5 separate regions of the Homo sapiens genome follow, and all the other regions are linked to region 1. Evidence: promoter capture Hi-C in 16 types of primary human blood cells and fetal thymus (Javierre and others, 2016). All regions are on one chromosome and are shown on one strand. Each heading gives the region's core, a stretch centred on a gene start or on the middle of the fragment in contact. The rest is flanking DNA. Distances are from core to core; before and after follow the strand shown. Region 1 holds the start of ZSWIM7 (zinc finger SWIM-type containing 7). Region 2 overlaps TRPV2 (transient receptor potential cation channel subfamily V member 2). Region 3 overlaps ZNF286A (zinc finger protein 286A). Region 4 holds the start of CENPV (centromere protein V). Region 5 overlaps PIGL (phosphatidylinositol glycan anchor biosynthesis class L).

What was found. The method cuts DNA at HindIII sites, captures the fragments that hold promoters and counts their contacts. A CHiCAGO score of 5 or more calls a contact.
Region 2: a contact is called between a fragment that was not itself captured here and the fragment with the promoter of ZSWIM7 in region 1, in 2 of 17 cell types (naive CD8 T cells and fetal thymus). The highest score is 6.3, in naive CD8 T cells.
Region 3: a contact is called between a fragment that was not itself captured here and the fragment with the promoter of ZSWIM7 in region 1, in 1 of 17 cell types (activated CD4 T cells). The highest score is 5.4, in activated CD4 T cells.
Region 4: the fragment with the promoter of CENPV here is called in contact with the fragment with the promoter of ZSWIM7 in region 1 in 3 of 17 cell types (activated CD4 T cells, total CD4 T cells and total B cells); the score reaches 9.7 in activated CD4 T cells.
Region 5: a fragment that was not itself captured here is called in contact with the fragment with the promoter of ZSWIM7 in region 1 in 1 of 17 cell types (erythroblasts); the score reaches 6.3 in erythroblasts.

What each region holds. Positions count from the first base shown.
Region 1 is chr17:15,998,382-16,001,081 of GRCh38, reverse strand. ZSWIM7 (zinc finger SWIM-type containing 7) reads left to right here and starts at 1,378. Exons shown (of 5, transcript NM_001042697.2): 1 at 1,378-1,563. The coding sequence starts at 1,488. TTC19 (tetratricopeptide repeat domain 19) reads right to left here and starts at 1,258. Exons shown (of 10, transcript NM_017775.4): 1 at 1,050-1,258; 2 at 837-964. The coding sequence starts at 1,233. RefSeq lists silencers at 905-1,294, 1,645-1,804 and an enhancer at 1,415-1,504. The HindIII fragment of the contact is 18,071 bases long and covers 1-2,700 here.
Region 2 is chr17:16,432,677-16,435,376 of GRCh38, reverse strand. TRPV2 (transient receptor potential cation channel subfamily V member 2) reads right to left here. Exons shown (of 15, transcript NM_016113.5): 13 at 1,679-1,803; 14 at 408-487. Among named protein-coding and RNA genes, the nearest start is that of SNHG29, 5.0 kb to the left of the region's middle. The HindIII fragment of the contact is 9,614 bases long and covers 1-2,700 here.
Region 3 is chr17:15,706,626-15,709,325 of GRCh38, reverse strand. It overlaps ZNF286A (zinc finger protein 286A), which reads right to left. Exons shown (of 6, transcript NM_001130842.2): 5 at 1,079-1,171. ZNF286A-TBC1D26 (ZNF286A-TBC1D26 readthrough (NMD candidate)) reads right to left here. Exons shown (of 23, transcript NR_171000.1): 5 at 1,079-1,171. Among named protein-coding and RNA genes, the nearest start is that of ZNF286A-TBC1D26, 8.2 kb to the right of the region's middle. The HindIII fragment of the contact is 482 bases long and covers 1,115-1,596 here.
Region 4 is chr17:16,352,136-16,354,835 of GRCh38, reverse strand. It overlaps CENPV (centromere protein V), which reads left to right and starts at 1,367. Exons shown (of 5, transcript NM_181716.3): 1 at 1,367-1,809. The coding sequence starts at 1,400. RefSeq lists silencers at 1,158-1,307, 1,368-1,977. The HindIII fragment of the contact is 31,801 bases long and covers 1-1,770 here.
Region 5 is chr17:16,284,672-16,287,371 of GRCh38, reverse strand. All of the region lies in intron 2 of PIGL (phosphatidylinositol glycan anchor biosynthesis class L), which reads right to left. Among named protein-coding and RNA genes, the nearest start is that of MIR1288, 4.0 kb to the right of the region's middle. RefSeq lists enhancers at 1,083-1,377, 1,426-1,475, 640-1,629. The HindIII fragment of the contact is 1,785 bases long and covers 423-2,207 here.

The sequences.
Region 1 (2,700 bases), core at 129-2,628:
AGCATAGTTGGTGGCAATGATGGTTTGCACTAGGGTGACAGCAAGGGAGATAGACAAAAGGGGAAAGATTTGAGAAATATTTTGCATTTGTTGGCAACAGGACTTGTTGCTGGACTGTAAGTGTATTGGAAGGCAATGGTAAGGTACCACAAGTTTTAAGAATGACTATGAGGTTTTTAGGCTGAAAAACTGATGGTAGTAAAGAGATGGCGAAAGCGTATGTTGAGGAGGCATTAAAGATCGTTTAGTTTTGGGCATGTTAAATCTGAGAGGTAGGTATGGTCCTAAAGTGCAAATGGCATGTCAGTAGCACACTACAGAATGGAAATACAAATTTGGACGTTGTTGGCATCGAGTAGGTATTTAGCTCAATGGAAGAGATGAGATAACTTGGGAAAAGAGGAGGAAAAAAAAATAGAAAAGGATGTGGAGAAAAGGAAGAATTCAGGAGGAGAACCGAACCGCATAACCAACACTAAGTTGCCATTTTCAGGCCGCTATATACGTGCGAAATTATGTCATTTCAGATAGGCTGGTTAATTGATAAAACCACTACAAAACGTTCCCGATATTTCGTTTGCATAAAGCGTGATGCCTAGGGCGCCATCTCCATTTGCACTTGACACTGCAGAGGTTTTACTGCAGGCCTTAGAGTCGGAAAAGCCTGGATGGATTCCAATCCCCTCTCGGATGACCCACCTCATTCTCGGCAATTTTACCCGCGGAGCCTCCATCCACTCTTCGGCGAGGCGGAGAGAGTAATGCGCAGCAACGCCAAGACCCCGCTCACAAAGGCTACCGCGCTCGGCCGGGCGCAGGGCCCGGAGCCGCCTCACCTTGGCTCGCTTCAGCAGCTGGATGATCTCTGCCTCGGCCTCGTCCGCCCCGTCCTCGGCAGCGGCCCCGTCGGCTCCCTGCTGCTCCTCCTCCTCTGCCGCAGCGGGCCTCGAGAACCAGGCGAGCGCTGCGGGAAGGGGCTCTGAGGTCATCGGGCCCGGCCCGCGCCCCTGTCCCCGCCCGGCCGGCCCCGCCCGGCCCGCGCCCCTCACCTGCCAGCAGCGGCAGCAGGCCTGGGCCCCGGCCGTGCGGCGCGACTCGGGATGGCGGCACCTGCACCTCGGGCCCCGGACCTCCTGCCAGCCCCGGGAGCAGGCGCGCGGAGCAGCCCCGGCACCGCCGCCCCGCGGCCCGCAGGAAGCCTCGGCCCAGGCTCCAGCTCAGGAGCCGGAACATGCTCCCGCCGCGTCCTCTGCGCACTGCAGGCCAGACGCGCTCCTGGCCCCCGACCACGCGCCGAGCGCCCTCCGGATTGGCCGGGCCCTGACGACTGAGCAGGACATCCCTGCGTCCGCACGCGCGATGACGCGCCCCGACGTCACTCCGTCTCGCCCTGCCCCGGCGGGGGGTCAGGATCCTCCACAGGTAGGCGCAGTCAGCTGGAGCGTCGCGGCGGTCCGCCGGTCGTGGAGGGCGTGTCCTGCGGCGCGATGGCCGTAGTGTTGCCGGCGGTTGTGGAGGAGCTCCTGAGCGAGATGGCGGCGGCGGTGCAGGAGAGCGCGCGAAGTACGGGACCGAGGTCGTGTGTGGCTGCGCCATGGGCGCGGGCGGGGCATCCGGGCACCGCCGGGCCGGGAGGCAGGAGGCGGGGTGTCCGGGCCTGGCCCTGCCTTTTTTCCATGTGGTTCTCTAAACCTCTTGTTCGTAAAAAGACAAAAAAACAAAACAACAAAAAAGCGAAATTGGAACAAGTAAAAGTCAAATCGATTCAGCAAATATTTACGGTACAGCGCAGTTGCAGGAGCCCCTCCGTCGGAGCGAGTAGGCCAGTGGGGACCGAAGTGCTGAGAGCTGGCCGGGTCGCTGGGAGGGGTCCCCGCCCGGGGGTGGAAGGGACGGGAGCCTACAGTGAGTGATAGAAACGTGGAGTTCTTGATTATTTTACACGAAATTTTGAATTATTAAACTTCTTTTTCTCAAATTCTGATGTTAACATTAAAGTTAATGCTTCCATACACTTTAAAAAGTAGGCCCAGCGCAGTGGCTCACTCCCGTAATCCCAGCACTTTGGGAGGCCGAGGCAGTTGGATTACCTAAGGTCAGGAGTTCGAGACCAGCCTGGCCAACATGGTGAAACTTCGTCTCTACTAAAAATACAAAAAATTAGCTGGGCGTGGTGGCGGGCGCCTGTAATTCCAGCTACTCAGGAGGCTGAGGCAGGAGAATCGCTTGAACCCGGGAGGCGGAGGTTGCCGTGAGCCGAGATCGCGCCATTGCACTCCAGCCTGGGCAACAAGAGCGAAATTCCATCTCAAAAAAAAAAAAAAAAGCATTTTAAGAGCCACAAAACCTAAATGCATATGCAATCGTTGGAGTAAATCTGGGTATTGTGAAAGCACCATTTTTTTTCTGACCAGCAGAGGGTACTCTTTGGCTATGCTCACCAAAATCACTTGAGAAGGGTTGATCTCAAGATGTGTTCAGAGTATGCTAGGATAAGATCAAATCAAATTTGATATACTCAAAATGCATTGACTAATGAACTACTCTTAGGATGTAAAAATGGCCACCTTATAAATAACAGCCATATCAGGCCCCCAAACTGCCATCGCTTATTCAACTTGGATGGCTTTTGTTTTAAAAGTACTGTACTGCATTTTGAAAGGGTTTATCTTGAGTTACTGTTTTTAAGGAACTGAGAAA
Region 2 (2,700 bases), core at 201-2,700, 430 kb before region 1:
TGTTGTAGGCTGCGCTGTGACACAGCCCTTCCTAACTTATTCCCCTGCTGAGTCCCCAGGCTCAGCCCAGGCCTGGCTGGGGACAGACCCTCGATAACCAATTGAATGGGCAAAGGGTGTGACTGACTGGCATCAGAGAGAGGGCAGCCAGAGGCTGGGCTGGTGGAAGCGCTAACAGCCTCAGAGGTTTCCCCTGGTTCCTGCCTGAAAGCAAGGTGTGGGTGGAAAGGAAAGGAGGGAACCACTGTTTTAAGGAGGCAATCCCTCTAAGAGGAGCTGGCATGTGGGGATCTGCAAAGGGACTATGAGGAGGTCTCTGGGTCCTGCCCCAGACTCTCCAAGGCTTTGTGGCCAAGCAGCAGAGACACACACCCCAGGGCAGAGGCTCTAGTCACCAGGCTACTCACGAGGGACACCTGCCCCTGACGGGTCCTCACACAGCGTAGGCAGCGTCTGCTCCCATGAAGCCCAGTTCACCTCCTCCACCCTGAGGGCAACAGAGCAGCTCTGAGGTTTGCCTGCTTTGACCGCCTCCCCTCCCACCCCGGAGAGGGGCGTGGCCCCCCAAATTGGGAGACTATGCAGAGATGCTCTGGTGGACACAGAGGCCCTGAGGAGGACAGGCTTTTTCTCTGCAGGGTTCTGGGCCACCCACTTGGAGCCCTGTCCTGTGAGGCAGGTGCTCACTTGCAGGAATCAGCATCCATCGCTTCTGGCTGTTCACAGCAGCCTGGGTTGCCCAGAACAACCAGAGAAGAGGAATTCAGATCAGGTGTATCTGTGCTTCCGGGTTCTGGGGCCTATCATGGCTGCTCCTCATGCCCAAGACTCCGTCTCTCTGCTCATCTGCTGCCTCACGACAGTGTCTGTTTTTTTTGTTGCTGTTGTTTTCTTTTTTTTTTTTTTTTTGAGATGGAGTCTCGCTCTGTCGCCCAGGCTGGAGTGCAGTGGTGCGATCTCAGCTCACTGCAAGCTCCGCCTCCCAGGTTCATGCCATTCTCCTGCGTCGGCCTCCTGAGTAGCTGGGACTACAGGCGCCCGCCACCACGCCCGGCTACTTTTTTGTATTTTTAGTAGAGATGGGGTTTCACTGTGTTAGCCAGGATGGTCTCGATCTCCTGACCTCGTGATTTGCCCGCCTCGGCCTCCCAAAGTGCTGGGATTACAGGCATGAGCCACTGCACCCGGCCGACAGTGTCTGTTTTTAGCTGTGTGTTTGTCACTAGGTTCCCTCTCCCAGTGTCCCAGCCTTTCCTGGACACAGAAGGGCATGTTCTCCATGGAAGGGGTTGTAGCTCAGAGATCAGGCTGGCAGAATTGGGGGTGGGGGGACACAGAGCAGCCAGGGCAATGCTAGAGTGCTAGCAACCCAAGGGTCCCTCTGACTTCTTGGCCTCCTTACCGTAACACATTTCAGGCTACAAGGAGGAGTCTGAGATCACCAGGAGGGGACCTTCAGTTTAAGCCACTGGGACAGGCAGATGGCCAGTCATGTGGCAGCCATGGCTTGTGAGATCCAGACCCCTGACCTCACCTGCTCAGGCTCAGTCCCTGGTGCTCTTTGGGCCTGCCCTTCCCACCAGACCTGGCTCCTGGCAGCTGTGCCCTGCACTGCAGGGGGGCCCCAGGGATTGCTGGACAGCAAGGCCCCCAGGAGACCCTCCCACCACTCACTCACCTGAAGCACCAGCGCTCATCGGGGCTGCCATCTGGCTTAGTGCCAACGGTCAGCATCACACCTGCCCGCTGCTTCTTCCTGCACCACCAATAGCCATTCTCCATCTCCAGGACAGAGATGGCTTTCTGGGGACAAAGGATGCATCAGACAGAACGTCCTGGGACCCTGCCTGGGGGCAAAGGCACACAAGGCAAGCGGAGCAGGGAAGTGCCGCGCAGCACTTCACAGTATAACGCGAAGTCAACTAAACACGCGGATTCGAATCTGGCTCCAACATCCGGTTACCTGTGTGGGGTTGGGCCCTCAGCCTCTCTGCATCTCAGTTTCCCCATTTGTAGACTGAGGACAAAGTGCCTCAGACAGCTGATGGGAAGTCTGTACCTTATGAGTACTGGACAGCTACTTGCTCTTACATCGTTCCAGGCTCCAGATTGCCACACCACCAGGAACAGAACTTCATTTGCTCACCCCACACATGTGCCTGCCCAGAGGCACACCAGTGAGTCAGGTGGGGCACAGAACCTTGCAGAGGAGGGCACCAAGGCTCAGAGGAGATAAGGGGCTTCCCCAAGATCAACAATGAATTGGCAGCAGGGTGGGGCATGGTGGCTCATGCCTGTAATGCCAGCACTTTGGGAGGCCGAGGCAGGTGTATCACCTGAGGTCAGGAGTTCAAGACCAGCTTGACCAACATGGTGAAACCTTATCTCTACTAAATACAAAAAATTAGTGGGGTGTGGTGGCACATGCCTGTAATCCTAGGTACTTGGGAGGCTGAGGCAGGAGAATCGCTTGAACCCAGGAGACAAAGGTGGCAGTGAGCCAAGATTGCACCATTGCACTCCAGCCCGGGCAACAAGAGCAAAACTCTTGACTCAAAAAAAAAAAAAAAAGAAACACTGGACAGCAATGATGATAAGAGTAGCTGGTAGCACATTGAGCACCTGCTTGGTGCTGGGCACTGTCCTAAGTACATCTATGAGCTTAAAGGAGGTGGGAGTAATCTCAGCACTTTGGGAGGC
Region 3 (2,700 bases), core at 106-2,605, 290 kb after region 1:
TAGAGACGGGGTTTCACCATGTTGGCCAGGCTGGTCTCAAATTTCTGACCTCAGGTGATCCACCCACCTTGGCCTCCCGAAGTGCTGGGATTACAGGCGTGAGTCACCACACCCAGCTGAGAATAAAAGGGCTTTAACTGAATATGTAATATTTTTATTTCTTAAAAAATAAAAGACATCACACACCTCAAAAGGATGGCTAAAATGAAAACAAGCAATATTAAGTGTTGACAAGCATGTGGAACAACTAGAACGCACATACTCTGCTGCTAGGAATGTAATTGGTACAATGACTCTAGAAACCTCTTTGGCACTATCTACCAAAAGTGAGTATGTATCTATCCTCTGATAAAACAAGTCTACTTGTATGTATATATCCAGAAGAAATGCATATATTTGTTCACCAAAAGGCATTTAAAAAGTGTACATAGTGGCATTATTCAGACAGCTAAAAACTGGAAACTATCCAAATACTCATCTTCAGAAGAATAAACTGGGTATATTAACAAAACAAAAAATTATACAATGATAATGAATAAATTATGATGATATGCAGCAACAAAGATGTATCTCACAGCTAATGTGCAGTGAAGGAAGCCAGACACAAGAGTATATACAATATGATTCCATTTATAGAAAGTTCAAGAACCGTCAAAACTTGGTGCTATAAGTTAGGATAAGGTGACCCTTGGGAGAAGGGAGGGTCCTGAAACAGGGCACACCGGTGCTTCTAGAGGCGCTGGTAAGGCTATTTTCTTGATTTGGGCAATCGTTACATGAATGTGCTAAATTAGTGAAAATTCATCCAACTGTATAATTATTAGTTTTATATTGTAAGAAAAAGAAAGGAAGAAAGAAAAGAGGCAAACGAAGCAAAATATTAGTACGTGTCTAATCTCAGTGATGGATACATGAATGTTATTTTATTTTCTGGACTTCTGTATATATTTTAAATGCTTTAGAATTTTAAAAAAATTTAAAAATAAGGGCACACAGGCACTTTCTTAAGCACTGAAAAGTATTTCTTCATTGTCCTGCTGGGCTATCATTTATGAAGACTCCCATCTATCTGGCTCACCTGAATAGCTGCTTTTGGGGGCTTTTCTCTCAAGCTTCAATGGTTCTTTTCCATTCTCCAAGTTGTAGCTCTCAGGTTTGGAAACTGGAAGCCCTATTCATTTAAAAAAAGAAAAAGACAGAAAGAAGAAAGTAATGGGAGTAAGTTATTTGTGGAAGTTTTCTTCAAGCCAGTTGAATTGTTACATATTCCTTAGTGAATTCCAACTTTCTTTCTTTTTTTTTAATTTATAAAAATTTACTTTTTATTTTTTATTTTTAAAGTTAATGGGATCTCACTATATTGCCCAGGCAGGTCTCGAACTCCGGGGCTCAAGCTATCCTCCCACCTCTGCCTCCCTAAGTGCTGGGATTACAGGTGTGAGCCACCACGACCAACTTTCATGGCCACCGTCCTGCTGGACTTAGTTATTTGTAATGGGTATAAAGATCTAAACCGGAATATGGTCTCAACCTCTTGATCTACAAAGTATTACAGGAAGAGCTGAAGTAAGGGAGGGTGGACCTCTAAATGAAGCTTAAATATCTGCAGCAAGAGTCTGGGCCTGGTAAGGAGTTCAATTGGATTTGGAAAATACAAATATTTTCAACTGTCAGAAAAGAAAGGAATTTCTCTTTATTTCCTTATTGTGTGAGGAAACTTCAGAGAGATGTTGCAAATTAGTCCTTACCTCAGGAAAGGAGGAAAAAGCGGGACCTCAATGGCAGCACCACATAACTGTAACGGTGGTAACTGAAGTTTTATCTTCTAATGTTTTTCCTTTCCTTCTTCAGTTATTAGAAGTCACTTTCTTTTTTAATTTTTTTTTTTTTTTTAGACAGAGTCTTACAAAAAGGCTGGAGTGCAGTGGCGCAATCTCGGCTCACTGCAAGCTCCGCCTCCCGGGGTCATGCCATTCTCCTGCCTCAGCCTCCCGAGTAGCTGGGACTACAGGCGCCCGCCACCGCACCCGGCTAATTTTTTGTGTTTTTAGTAGAGATGGGGTTTCACCGTGTTAGCCAGGATGGTCTCGATCTCCTGACCTCGTGATCCACCCGCCTCGGCCTCCCAAAGTGCTGGGATTACAGGCGTGAGCCACCGCGCCCGGCCTCAGAAGTCACTTTCTTAGGGGATTTTTTTACATAAGGTTTGGGAGGGGCTAACAGTCCCCTCCACCCCTCATACAATCATATGCATGCATGTGTGTATGCGTGCATGCTAGTAAGCCCAGGATCTAAAACTGGCCACAGAGTACTCAATCTCGCTGGCTCTAGAGATTGTTTCACTGATGGGCCTGTGACCTTATTTGCTGAAACTCCCAGGAAAGAAGCATTTTCTTTTTTAGCTTTGCTATCTAACTGGAAGAATAACGTAACCCTGGGACTGCCACTGGCCATCTTTGCCACATGGGGAAATCCTAGGAATAAAGCTAATACAGAGCAAAACCAAGCTAATTGATTAAAAATAAATCAATGAATAAAGGAAATTCTTGATAATATATTTGGATCTCTGAAAAATCAAAATTTTTTTCCCCTTTAAGAGTGTGAGTTAAGTTTCTGTCACTTAAACCCAAAGAATACTGATACAAAACAAGCACAGACATTTCATCAAGAATCTAGAGCAAAAACAGATTTTCTACACAG
Region 4 (2,700 bases), core at 118-2,617, 350 kb before region 1:
TAGGGAAACCCGGTATCTACAAAACAACAATAGCAACAATTCGCTGGGGCGGGGGGGGGGGGGGGGGGGCGCCGCCTGTTGTTCCAGCTACTCAGCTACTCCAGAGGCCCAGGCGGCAGGATCGCTTGAGGCCAGGAGTTCTTGGCTACACTGAGCCGAGATCCCGCTACTGCACTCCAGTCTGTCAGATCCTGTATGGAAAAAAAAAAAAAAAGACAAAATAGTTAAACTATGCCTTTAATTCAATAAACTATTAAACTAACAATACCATGAAGAAAATCAGAATAAAGAAGAAAGATAGGCTGACGCAGGAGAATCGCTGGAACGGTGAGGCGGAGGTTGCGTGAACCGAGATCGCGCCACTGCACTCCAGCCTGGCGACAGAGTGAGACTCCAAAAAAGAAAAAAAAAAAAAAAAAAAAAAGAAAGATAGGCTGGGCCCGGTGGCTCAGGCCTGTAATCCCAGCGCTTTGGGAGGCCGAGGCGGATGGATCACCTGAGGTCGGGAGTATTCGGCACCAGCCTGACCAACATGGTGAAACCCCGTCTCTACTAAAAATACAAAATTAGCCGGGTGTGGTGGCGAATGCCTGTAATCCCAGCTACTCAGGAGGCTGAGGCAGGAGAATCGCTTGAACCTGGGAGGCGGAGGTTGCGGTGAGGCGAGATCGCGTCACTGCACTCCAGCCTGGGCAACAAGAGCGAAACTCGGTCTGAAAAAAGAAGAAGAAGGAGAAGGAGAAGAAGACTATCTGGGTTCCATCAACGATTCTCGTGCCTTTTGTCTTTAAACTTTGGTGCTGCCTTCATCAAAATCATACTAATGAAATTCGACGCGCGGGTCATTCATTTAATTAAAATGAAACCCCAAATCTGTTGACTATTGGTATCCTCATGACACTGTTCTATAATGTGACAGAAAAGACGAAGGTGAAGAACTATGGTTTCGGCCGCTGTTACACAGGAGGTAGCAGGTGGCAGGCCGTTTACACAAATTAGCTCGTTTTTGGAGACGAAGTTACCCCAGGCTGCCCGCTCGGATGAGCCTGCGAATTCAGGCCCAACCCAGGCCCCTCCAGGTCGGGAAGGTACGAAGAGCCCGCTGGATTCACACAGGGCAGGGGCGCCTTCGCAGGTGCGAGTGGATTCTGGGTATCGCGAGCGTAGGCCCAGGCGCAGCCCCTCTGCCTGCGGGACTGAACAGGCAGGTGCGTCCCAGCGGCCGGGCGGGCCGGGTCTCCCTCCTGCGGGCAGGCGCCGCGCTGCGGGGCGCGGCTGGCGGAGCGGGGCAGCCGGGCGCAGCGCCCCCTGGGCCTGAAGACTGGCGGGCGGCGGGGGCGCGCGCAGGCCGGCGGGGGCGCGCCGCGCTGCGAGGCCTGCGCGCCAGGCTGCGGGAGCCATGCGGCGATCGAGGAGCTCTGCGGCCGCCAAGCTGCGCGGGCAGAAGCGGTCCGGGGCCTCCGCGGCCCCCGCGGCCTCCGCGGCCGCTGCCTTGGCACCCAGCGCCACCCGCACACGGCGCTCCGCTAGCCAGGCCGGGAGCAAGAGCCAGGCGGTGGAGAAGCCGCCGTCGGAGAAGCCGCGGCTGAGGCGCTCGTCGCCGCGGGCCCAGGAGGAGGGCCCGGGGGAGCCGCCGCCGCCTGAGCTGGCGTTGCTCCCGCCACCGCCGCCGCCGCCGCCGACTCCCGCGACCCCGACGTCCTCGGCGTCCAACCTGGACCTGGGCGAGCAGCGGGAGCGCTGGGAGACGTTCCAGAAGCGGCAGAAGCTTACCTCCGAGGGTGCCGCCAAGCTCCTGCTAGACACCTTGTGAGTGCGGCGGGCCGGGGGGCGCGGGAGCCGTTGCCACGCGGACCCCCTCGGCAGGAGTCGGGCTCGCAGCCCGCGTGCAGGCCTTGGGCGCCTTTCAGCTCTGAGCCTTCCACGTTACGGAGCCGACGCGGCTCCCCCGTTAGCACTGGGGTTATTCCTTAATTCTAAGGGCGGCGGGGCGGGGCGGTGCTTCTAGGGCTGTGTGGCCTGGGAATGGAAAGGGGGCTTCGTCCGGAGCTTGAGGGCGCGCGCAGCCGTCTTGGGACACAAAGAGTCTTTCCCGGCCATAAGCATCGTGCTCGGGGACGTTGTCTCTTGCTGGCGCGCAAAGGGTGTGGGGGCCTTTCTTAGTGAAAAGAACATAAATCCCACGGCTTTCTCTTACCCGAATCCCCTTTTTTTTTGTGTTTGCACACGTGTTTTTGAGGGTGGGTGGAAGGGAAAGGTAGAAGCGTTGAAGGAAGCATGAATAGTTTTGAACTCACTGGGAAGCAAAATCCCGTCATTGTTCCAGGCACTGCCAGGGAGGGAGCAGGGGGCGGAGGTTATTGATCCGGGAGAGAAGCGCGCGCGAAGAGATGCTCCGGCCTCGCGCGGCGGCGGGGATACCTACGTAGGGAGGCTTTTATGTGCTCAGCCAGCTAATGCTCCCTGCCGCTCGCCCTCCTGGCTGCTCCGCAGTCTTTTAGATGGCCCGAGGAGCATCTCGAGTGTCCGCGATTTGGGAAAGAGCTTTTAACTGGGCTGTTAAAGGGCTGCCTTCTTTTCTCCAAATGCGATCTGGATTCCTGCCTCGGGGAACAGTTGTGCTACAGAGAGATATTTTAACGCCCTGATATTATATTTCAGTGTCAATTTTACGAATTAAAAAGAACAATCAAAACACTA
Region 5 (2,700 bases), core at 66-2,565, 290 kb before region 1:
GGACTGTCTGAAAGTTGTAAGAAAATCATCTTACAACTGTCCATCTTCCCAGGAAGATAAAGAAGGAAGTATTTATCTCCATAGGCTGTTAGCTCTCTAATCTTTCAGAGTTGAGCCCGCTTGGGGACCCCCGGGCAATCGCAAGCCCTGGGGCAGACAGCAGGAGGAGCAGTGTGGGCCTGAGGCGAGAGGCTGTGAGCTGGAACCAGCCTGCGGCTTCTCGGTGCCTGCGCAGCCATGGCTGGAGAAAGGCATCTGGAGGGGTCCCCAGGGACCCACACCACCAGAGCGGGGCTCCGAGAGAATGAAATCATTGTACATTTAAGTGATCTGGACTAAGCACACACTATGTGCCAAACAGAGGGCTGAGTTTTAGGGATATAAACATGAATACAAGTCATGGTCCCTTCCCTTAGGAAGCTTAGGGCCAATGAGGCAGAGGTTCGGACTGCTGCAGGATGAGCAGTTTGCTGCGGGAAGGAGAGATGGGCAGGGGAAGAGGTGAGGAATCCAGGCAGGTTCGGGGTACCATCAGTCAGTGGCTATTGAAGCACATGAGGCACCTCATTAACATGATGGCATTGCGCGTCTGGCTCTGAGGAGAGACTACTATTTTGGAAGCTAAGAACACAACAGAAGAAGCCAACTCTTGCCAGTCTTTTAAGTGTGACTCGTAGAAGCCCGACGACTCCTTCCCTGGGGTGTATTTAGCAAACACAGTGTTAATACCTCTGGAAAAGGCCCCAAACTCGAAGTCCCGCCCTAGACCTTAATGTTCAGGAAACAAGCCAGGCTAAAAGCGTTCATTAAAATAACGTTGTGGTTTTTTCCCCCACTGGCTGAATATCCTCAAACAGTGACCTTTCCTACACATTCTAATGAGTCACACTGGCCGGCACATTTTAGTCGGGAGAGTCATGGAAACCCTTTGTGAAAATCTGTGGGGTTGTGGGTCCGTTCAGTCACCAGGTGCTGGTGAGGGAAGCCCCCCTTCTTTCCTCTCCCCAGCTAAGCAAGCCCAGGGGCCCAGGTCTTTCTCCCCCAGACCCAGCCCTGCTCAGAGCAGGAGACTTCGCAGCCTCCGCTGCTGGAACTCAAGCAGGGTTGGGTAACAGCTTATCTCTGAAAACCGAGTCCCACTTTTGCACACTGCACTCTGAACTTTAATACAGACGGAGGCGGCTCACACGCCCTTATTTGGTCTTGTGGCTTGTACAGCGCAAGCCGGAAGGTTCAGCCACCCCTCCACCCACCTCTGGCCCATCTCTAAACTCGATCATTTCCTTTGTCATCCAAAGCGAGCAAAGGTCAGTAGAGTTCAGAGCTAACCTTAAGGCTAGCCAAGGACGTGGAAGCCTAACCTGGGACTGCCAATATCGCCCCCCAAGGGCCACTGTGGGAGGCAGCAACTGTCTCCTGGTCTGAGGGCCTGGCACTAGCGTCGCTGCTCCAAATACAGGAGTGTGAAGAAATGAAGTCTAAGCTGCAGGGAGGTTGCAGCAGGGTCCAACAACTTCTGGGGGGTGTCTCTGCACCGCCAAGGACTAACCTAAGCCATACGCAGAGAAAAGAAATAGGGGAAAAGATAAGTAAGAGAAGGAAAAGGCGATCTGAGAAAAAGAAAAAGGACTGAAAAAAGAGGTATATAAAGATCAGTGCACTTTTATTAAGTATCTGCTGTGATAAGGACCTCATTTCTAAGCAGCTTAGGAGCCCAGACAGACCAAATGCCCTAAGAGAGCCTTTTCCACATACGGCTTGAAGCCCCCAAATCTAACCATAAAATGGATTTTTTTTTTTTTGGAGACAGAGCCTCACTCTGTCGCCCAGGCTGGAGAGCAGTGGCGCAACCTCTGCCGCCCGGGTTCAGGTGATTCTCCTGCTTCAGCATCCCCAGTAGCTGGGATTACAGGCACCTGCCACCGCGCCTGGCTAATTTTTGTAGTTTTAGTAGAAATGGGGTTTCACCATCTTGGCCAGGCTGGTCTTGAACTCCTGACCTCGTGATCCACCTGCCTTGGCCTCCCAAAGTGCTGGGATTACAGGCTTGAGCCACCGCGCCCGGCCTGGATTTTTCCTTTCTCATAGGATATAAAAAGGATTAGCAAGGCATGAGTGCTAGGTATTACACTGAAATCAGTTACCTGTGTTCTCCTTCCCAGAAAGATGCATTTCATATTATTGCAACAAATAAAGTACATAAAGCTTGCAAAGTCCTTGTGAGAAATCTTTCTTCAAAAATTGCCAATTTGGCCAGGTGTGGTGTCTCACCCCTGTAATCTCAGCCTTTTGGGAGGCTGAGGTGGTGGGAGGGCTGCTTGAGGCCAGGAGTTTAAGACCAGCTGGGCAACATTAGTAAGATCCTGTCTCTACAGATATATTCTTTAATTGCCAATTTGCTATCTAATGTTGTAACCACCCAGTGGGTTCACCTTGCCTGCTGCCTAGACAGAGTCGATTTATCAATACACGGGAATTGCAATAGAGAAAGAGTAATTAATTCATGCAGAGCCGGCTGTAATTAATTCATGCAGAGCCAGCTGTAATGGAGACCGGAGTATTATTATTACTCAAATCAGTCTCCCGTAGCATTCTGGAATCAGAGTTTTTAAGGACAACTTGGTAGGTTGGGGGAAGCCAGTTAGTGAGGAGTGCTGATTGGTTAAGTAGGAGATGAAATCATAGGGAATTGAAGCTGTC